2 separate regions of the Homo sapiens genome follow, and region 2 is linked to region 1. The links are contacts of gene promoters, found by promoter capture Hi-C in blood cells and fetal thymus (Javierre and others, 2016). All regions are on one chromosome and are shown on one strand. Each heading gives the region's core, a stretch centred on a gene start or on the middle of the fragment in contact. The rest is flanking DNA. Distances are from core to core; before and after follow the strand shown. Region 1 holds the start of ARMCX5 (armadillo repeat containing X-linked 5). Region 2 overlaps ARMCX5-GPRASP2 (ARMCX5-GPRASP2 readthrough).

The links. The method cuts DNA at HindIII sites, captures the fragments that hold promoters and counts their contacts. A CHiCAGO score of 5 or more calls a contact.
Region 2: a contact is called between a fragment that was not itself captured here and the fragment with the promoter of ARMCX5 in region 1, in 1 of 17 cell types (megakaryocytes). The highest score is 6.4, in megakaryocytes.

What each region holds. Positions count from the first base shown.
Region 1 is chrX:102,597,172-102,601,320 of GRCh38, reverse strand. ARMCX5 (armadillo repeat containing X-linked 5) reads right to left here and starts at 1,806. Exons shown (of 4, transcript NM_001168478.2): 1 at 1,474-1,806; 2 at 289-401. ARMCX5-GPRASP2 (ARMCX5-GPRASP2 readthrough) reads right to left here and starts at 1,806. Exons shown (of 19, transcript NR_146584.3): 1 at 1,474-1,806. RefSeq lists enhancers at 1,507-1,556, 989-1,760. The HindIII fragment of the contact is 9,703 bases long and covers 1-4,149 here.
Region 2 is chrX:102,827,520-102,831,668 of GRCh38, reverse strand. The region is part of intron 10 of ARMCX5-GPRASP2 (ARMCX5-GPRASP2 readthrough); the gene reads right to left. The region is part of intron 2 of LINC00630 (long intergenic non-protein coding RNA 630); the gene reads right to left. Among named protein-coding and RNA genes, the nearest start is that of LINC00630, 60 kb to the right of the region's middle. The HindIII fragment of the contact is 6,254 bases long and covers 1-4,149 here.

The DNA of each region.
Region 1 (4,149 bases), core at 557-3,056:
GGCTACTCCTCCTCCTCCTTCCTATTGCCCACCATCTTCCTCTTCAGTGATTGCCCTAGAATGTCCCTCGTTCAGATTAGACTAGGTTCAAGCGTGAGAGCAGGACAAGCAGTGGAGAGTGGGAAAGGCAGCTTAGCATTCTGTACCCCCACAACTTACCAAGACTCCCAACTAAATCAGCAGCAGCAGGGGGTGGGGCAGATGGGAATAATTGGTAAAATGACAAAACAGAAGAGATGGAATTCTCTAGTCGAAGTTGCCCCCCTGTCCCTGTACCTTTACACCAACCTTAACAGATACAGGGCAATTTTCTCTTCTTCGTAATTTCCTAGTTTTAAGTTGGGTGACCATTTTACAAAACTTCACAACTGACAGTTCCACAGACCTGGGGACAGATCTACCTACAGGGATTCACAAAAACAGAGACCAATAAATGAAGACACAGGAGACAGTTGAGGCTGTTTTTGGTAGAGACCAGCACCTAGGGCACAGTTTCTTTCTGGATATAAGTACCTGTTTGGCAAACATTTTCTATCTCCCCTTTTTCTCCCACTCCTAAATCTCCAAGCCCCTCTGCTCTATTCTCAAAGTCTGACAATTCCTATACAGAGACAACTCAAACATCCCTACAAGGTAGTAGTAGTGGTGTTAGTAGGGACGAAATGCCTAGACAAACCACGGAGGCTGGGGAAAAAATGAAAAGTATTTATTTCCATATTTCATCTGGGTTCCTATGTTTCCTTCCTCTCTCCCAAAGCCTATCATTTTCTGCAACATAATGCGGGTAAGGGAGGACATGTTAGGAAAGCTGGCAGAGAGTTCTGGAGGCTCCCTTACACTCCTGCCTACTCTAATCTTAGCCATCTACCACCTCCAAGTACTGCCTCCCAAGTACTGCCCACTCTGTACAAACCAGGCCAATTTTCTTTTCCTTCTCCTCTCCCCTTGAGGTCTGCTGTCCCCTACAGATCTTTACAGAAACATGGAGTGCTGCAAACTTAGGAACAGATTTACACATAAAAACGCGTGATACACACCCAAAGAACAAATGAAAAGACAGAGAGAGAGACGTGGTTATTAATGGTCAGACCAGTAACCAAGACATGAGACCCTTTTCAAATCCAGAGCCTTGATTATCAAACATTTACAACCTCTTTTTACATTCTCTCCCTCTCAGGGCTCCCCAGACAACTGTCCTCGCCTGTGGAAGTAGCCCTCTCTTCCTCATCTAGTCTGCCTTTTCCCTGCTAGAAGCTGCAACCTTTTTCTTCCCAAGCATGGTCTGAGGTGAACCGAGTGTATGGAAATCAAGCTAGCAAAAGGTAGATCATTTTTTTTTAATTGTTGTGTGCCATTCCAATTACCCATCTCTCTCTCCTTCTCACCGCCCGCCTCCCATGACCAGGTCGCGTATCCAGTGTTCACCTCTGATACCCACATCCACCCCCAAGCGATGCGCACCTTCTCACTGACCTTCTCTGCTTGGATCAGAGGCAGTTTTCTTATTTCCTTGCCTCGAGGTGCTGTGTCATACAGCAGCAGGAACAGACAGTCAGACACAAGGACTCGAGGCAATGGCGGCGGCTGTGTATGGGGATTGACTCGGCACCTGGGACTCAAGACGAGATAACCGCTTTATCAGATTAAAGACTGCGATTGGCAAACTGTTGTCACTTTTGGTATTCTTTTCTCCTTCCTGTTCCCAGGGCTCCTCAGAACCTCGCGCGTAGTTACCATTTAACATCTACCTTTTCCTCCGCAGACGAGGTTCTTCCACGTCCGCGTTACCCACAACGGCAGTGGGAGGAGCTAGAGCGTAGTTTATGGGGATCCGGCTTATGGAAGCGGAGTGATATCAGGCTTTGTTTAGCGCCGCGACTCTTTTCTGTCGGAGGGCTCCCTGTCCTGTACCCTGTGGCCGCTTCAGGTATTGGAATGCGCAGGGACGAATTCCGGATATAGGGAAAACGGCGCTGGAACAAGAGAGGCAGACAAATACCAGAGTGTTTCTGTATTAGTTCCCCTTTTGCGGGAGCTCCCCCCACCAAGCCTACCATTCTTTCCTGAACTGAAATGCACATGGGTTTCCAGCTGTGGTGTCAGGAAATCTCTTCTGGCCTGACAGGCGGAAGTGTTCCAGTCTTTCGAAGTTCGTTCTCCAAACACAGAGGCCCACTGAAATGGGCGGTCTCGGGGTGGGGCCCAGGGTAGGAAAGTCAGCAAAGAGAGTCAAGACTGAGATAGGAGGATACATACTAATCGATTCCACAAACTTTGTGTTCCTTCGAGTCCTCCCTCCCAGCCCTTAATTTTCATTTTCTTTTTTTTTTTTTTAAGTTCTAGGATACATGTGCAGGATGTGCGTGTTTGTTAAATAGGCAAACGTGTGCCGTGGTGGCTTGCTGCACCAATCAACCTATGACCTAGGTATTAAGCCTGGCATGCATTAGCTATTTTTCCTAAGGCTTTCCCTCACCGCCCCCCACAACCCCTGACAGGTCCCAGTGCGTGTTTTTCCCCTCCCTGTGTACATGTGTTCTCATTGTTCAGCTTCCACTTATAAGGGAGAACATGCAGTATTTGTTTTCTGTTGCTGCATTAGTTTGCTGAGGATAATGGCTTCCAGCTCGATCCATGTCCCTACAAAGGACATGATCTCATTCTTTATTATGGCTGCATGGTATTTCATGGTGTATATGCACCACATTTTCTTAATGTTATCACTGATGGGCATTTGGGTTGATGCCACGTCTTTGCTATTGTGAATAGTGCGGCAATGAATATACGTGTGCGTGTATCTTTGTAATAGAATGATTTATATTCCTTTGGGTATATACCCAGTAATGGGATTGCTGGGTCAAATGGTATTTCTGGTTCTAGATATTTGAGGAATTGCCACACCGTCTTCCACAATGGTTGAACTAATTTACATTCCCACCAATGTAAAAGCGTTCCCATTTCTCTGCAACTTTGCCAGCATCTCTTGTTTCTTAACTTTGTATTAATTGCCGTTATGACTGGTGTGAGATGGTATCTCATTGTGATTTTGATTTGCATTTCTCTAATGATCAGTGATGTTGAGCTTTTTTCCATGTGTTTGTTGGCCACATAAATGTCTTCTTTTGAGAAGTGTCTGTTCATGTCCTTTGCCCACTTTTTAATGGGGTTGTTTGTTTTTTTCTCGTAAATGTAAGTTCCTTGTAGATTCTGGATATTAGACCTTTGTCAGATAGATAGACTGCAAAAATTTTCTCTTCTGTAGGTTACCTGTTCACTCGGATGATAGTTTCTTTTTCTGTGCAGAAGCTCTTTAGTTTAATTAGATCCCATTTGTCAAATTTTGCTTTTGTTGCAATTGCTTTTGGCAATTTGCCTGTGCCTGTGTCCTGAATGGTATTGCCTAAATTTTCTTCCAGGGTTTTTATAGTTTTGAGTTTGACATTTAAGTCTTTAATCCATCTTGAGTTAAATTTTGTATAAGGTGTAAGCAAGGGGTCAAGTTTCAGTTTTCTACATATGGCTAGCCAGTTTTCCCAGCACCATTTATTAAATAGGTAATCCTTTCCCCATTGCTTGTTTTTGTCAGGTTTGTCGAAGATCAAATAGCTGTATATGTGCAGTCTTATTTCTGAGTTCTCTATTCTGTTCGACTGGTCTATGTGTCTGTTTTTGTACCAGAACCATGCTGTTCTACAAGGTTACTGTAGCCTTGTAGTATAGTTTGAAGTCAGGTAGTGTGATGCCTCCAGCTTTGTTCTTTTTACTTAGGATTGTCTTGGCTATACGAGCTCTTTTTTGGCTCTGCGTGAATTTTAAAATAGTTTCTTCTAATTCGGTGAGAAATGTCAATGGTAGTTTGATGGGAATAGCATTGAATCTATAAATTACTTTGGGCAGTATGGCCATTTTCACGATATTGATTCTTCCTATCCATGAGCATGGAATGTTTTTCTATCTGCTTGTTTCCTCTTTGATTTCCTTGAGCAGTGGTTTGTAGTTCCCCTTGAGTAATGATCTTACTGCTAAAGTATGTCTATCAACTGATAAAATTTTAAAATCATCATTCATTTTCATAATAACTGCTGTTTTATGACTTATGTAATTATCTTAGGAACATTTCAGACATTTGAAAGATCCAAAGCAGAAAAG
Region 2 (4,149 bases), core at 449-2,948, 230 kb before region 1:
CATCATCAGTCACTTGCCATCTCATCATCTCATTCATGACATTTGGGGTCAGGGATAATAATCAGCATCCTATTTCCAGATAATAAGCTATTTTGTGTCCTCTCATTTTATCAGCACGTTAACATCATAGAAGCATGCCATATTTTCATGTTGGGCTCTTGAAACAGGAGACACCACAGAGGAACAAGAGCTGTGAATCTCTAAGTTAACAATTATCTGAGAGAGCTCTTTCAATGGGCAGGTCTAAGGAAATGAGCGATCAGAGTGGCAGTAAAGGCAAAAGCTGGTCATACCTGGAACAGATGGAATGGAGGGGAAATGAGTTTTCACATAACACTTTAGGTGTCAAATGGAATATCTACTTTCTGAGGCCCATATTACTATGGCTTAATCACTTGAATGGACTTTGATATAGAAGTCTTATTTCCAACAACAAGTGAGTTTCTGCTAAAGGTTTAGAAAAGATCTCCAAGCTAATTCTGACATGCATGCAAGTGAAGGAGTCCTACCTGAGGGGTCAGGTTAGGAGCCACATTAGTTTTCTGATCCAGAGAGGAAAGGCAACTAATATTGATAGAACACATTGTTTAGAGGGTCCAGCTCCATGTTCTTCACTTTAGTGATTGAATTTAATTCTCATGACAACCCTACTAGTGAGGTACAATTATGCTCTCTTCATGGATGTATATGACTACAGCGCACTTGCTCCTAAGCACAGAGCTGGATGGCAAAGAGTTTGCTCACCACACAAACTAATGGAGCCAGGGATAGAATCAAGCAGCCTGGGCAATGGTACAAAAATGGTCAGGATTCATAATATCTAAACAGCCCCAAAATCACGTTATTAATCTCAGAAACACTATTTTCAGAGGGGAAAAAGGTGCAAAAGGGCACTTACTCTACAATAGCACAAATATTTATAGCCAAAAATGTACAATTACATATTTTGCATAATTCTCTCCAAGTCTATAAGGAAGGCATCATTATTTCCAGTTTACAGATGACCAACTAAGACTCACTGATGGAAAATCAATTTTGCAGAGGCATCTAGTAATGATCAGGAGCAGGGATGTAACTCTCACTCTCCTCAAAGGACAACACATTGTCTCCTTTTATAGTGGATGACCGTCTAAGACTTAAACACTTGTAGTTTTTTTTTTAATTTTTATTTATTTTATGTATATTTTTTGAGACGGAGTCTCATTCTGTTGCCCAGGCTGGAGTGCAGTGGCGCAATCTCGGCTCACTGCAAGCTCTGCCTCCCGGGTTCACGCCATTCTCCTGCCTCAGCCTTCCGAGTAACTGGGACTACAGGCGCCCGCCACCACACCTGGCTAATTTTCATATTTTTAGTAGAGATGGGGTTTCACTGTGTTAGCCAGGATGGTCTCGATCTCCTGACCTTGTGATCCGCCCGCCTCAGCCTCCCAAAGTGCTGGGATTACAGGCATGAGCCACCACGCCCAGCCAAACACTTGCAGTTTTTTATGTTGCCAGGATTATGCCCTTGTGGGTACTCACTCAACAACCTCTCTCTCTTTGAAAGAGCTGATCGTGCAGATGAAATCCCAGTGCAAGGTCCTATAGGTGGTAATGGGTCTGGTATAAGGGTCAAAGGCTTATGACTCCTGCCTCCTCTTCATCTGCACTCTCTCTTCATTTGAGGCTCAATAGAAACTGCTTTTCCAAATCAACGTAGCAGATCAAATGAGGGGGCAGAAAATGATAGGGGATTGGTTTGACGATCTTCTCATCTCACTCCAATACCTCAGCAAACCATCCTGCAACACAGAAATGGCCCCAAAGGTCCATGTATAATGTAAGTGTGAGCACATGCTCCATCTTCCTGCTCTCCTTCCAGGTGGTCTCTGTGGCAATTATGCTGCTTGGTTTAGATAACAGTCATCACTTCTCTGGGAGGGAGGAAAAAGGTGGGCCTGGATGACCATTCGTTGAAGTTCTACTAGGTGCCATCTACTCTGTATGGGATTTCTCATTTACCCCACAGAAAATTTGTCTAAGAAAGGCATTGTGAGTCCCCTTTTACAGATGAGCAAGGGCAAAGTAGAATGGCAAAGGATTTGATTACCACAGAAACTGAGAGAGCCAGAGATAGTAGCTGGCAACCTGGGCACCTTAAGTGCTGGTGGCAGATCTTTAGCAAATGTATCTGGACACACACTGTTAAGGAAGTTAATGTCTGTCCTCCCTGTGTTTACCCTCCTTGCATTTCCAGCAAGGAACCAGGCTTGGTGTTCCTTCCCCTTGCCTTAGGGGAGGTTTATGACAGGGTTGGGAGCCAAAGATGTCTGAATCCAGTTTCTTCCATTCTTTAGGAAACTTAAACTTAAGGGAAAGATTGGACTGCTTGTTATCTGGTAGGAAAGGGAAGGCCTCTGAGGACATAGAGAAAGGAGAGGAAGAGAGATTTATCCCAAATAGGGATGAGGCCAGAGATCTACTTGTCCCTCCAGGAGTAAGGATCTGAGCACTGCTCCATATCAACCCTTGGGTTTGATCCAACCCCAAGGTCCATTGAAATTGGGCATCCAGCCATGAGACCTATTTTTCTCTTTGGATAAAAGGATGGATGGAACAGGGTCAGGGAGTCCTTAAGGCACCAAGCCAATTAGGCAAATGGTCAGCTCAGCACTGAGCAGGAGGGACACATGATTGATGATGGCAAGGACCTCTCAGGCTGTTAACCAGAGTATAAGTTTCCACAAGTGGGACTGCTTCCTCAAAAAGCATGAATATTAAACATTTGTCTAATTCACCTTAAAATCTCTTTGCTAATTTGTCACAATGAAATACAAGATATGAATACTCATTTTCCAAGATCTGTACAAATAATGGGTTTCACTATATTATTAATATTTGCTAATGTGATATACTTTTGTTGGAATGTTAGATTATTTTTCATTTTCCATATTTTATTTTCCTATAAATGGCATATTTCACATTTAAATTACCAAATGGAAACATAATGATCCAACTTTATGTCTTAAATATGTCCTGGAATAAGAATCTACAATGAACTCAAACAAATTTACAAGAAAAAAACAAACAACCCCATCAAAAAGTGGGCAAAGGATATGAACAGACACTTCTCAAAAGAAGACATTTATGCAGCCAAAAGACACATGAAAAAATGCTCATCATCACTGGCCATCAGAGAAATGCAAATCAAAACCACAATGAGATACCATCTCACACCAGTTAGAATGGTGATCATTAAAAAGTCAGGAAACAACAGGTGCTGGAGAGGATGTGGAGAAATAGGAACACTTTTACACTGTTGGTGGGACTGTAAACTAGTTCAACCATTGTGGAAGTCAGTGTGGCGATGCCTCAGGGATCTAGAACTAGAAATACCATTTGACCCAGCCATCCCATTACTGGGTATATACCCAAAGGATTATAAATCATGCTGCTATAAAGACACATGCACACGTATGTTTATTGCAGCACTATTCACACAATAGCAAAGACTTGGAGCCAACCCAAATGTCCAACAATGATAGACTGGATTAAGAAAATGTGGCACATATACACCATGGATTACTATGCAGCCATAAAAAATGATGAGTTCATGTCCTTTGTAGGGACATGGATGAAGCTGGAAACCATCATTCTCAGCAAACTAGCGCAAGGACAAAAAACCAAACACTGCATGTTCTCACTCATAGGTGGGAATTGAACAATGAGAACACATGGACACAGGAAGGGGAACATCACACACTGGGGCCTGTTGTGGGCTGGGGGGAGGGATAGCATTAGGAGATATACTTAATGTTAAATGATGAGTTAATGGGTACAGCACACCAACATGACACATGTATACATATGTAACTAACCTGCACGTTGTGCATATGTACCCTAAAACTTAAAGTATAATAAAAAAGAAAAGAAAAGAAAAGTAAACTCAATCAGTGAGTTGGTGTTTATGCTGTATCCTCATTAAATGGAAAATGCAGGGCCATGATAATTCCATACATGGCCTAGGGAGGACAAATTGGTACAACCTCTTTGCAGAGACATTTGGCAACATCTGTGAGAGAAGAAAGCAAGGCACCTGTCACCCACTGTACTCTTAGGTCTGGACAGCATATATGTAAGATGGCCAAGATAGCATGGCTAGTCATATTT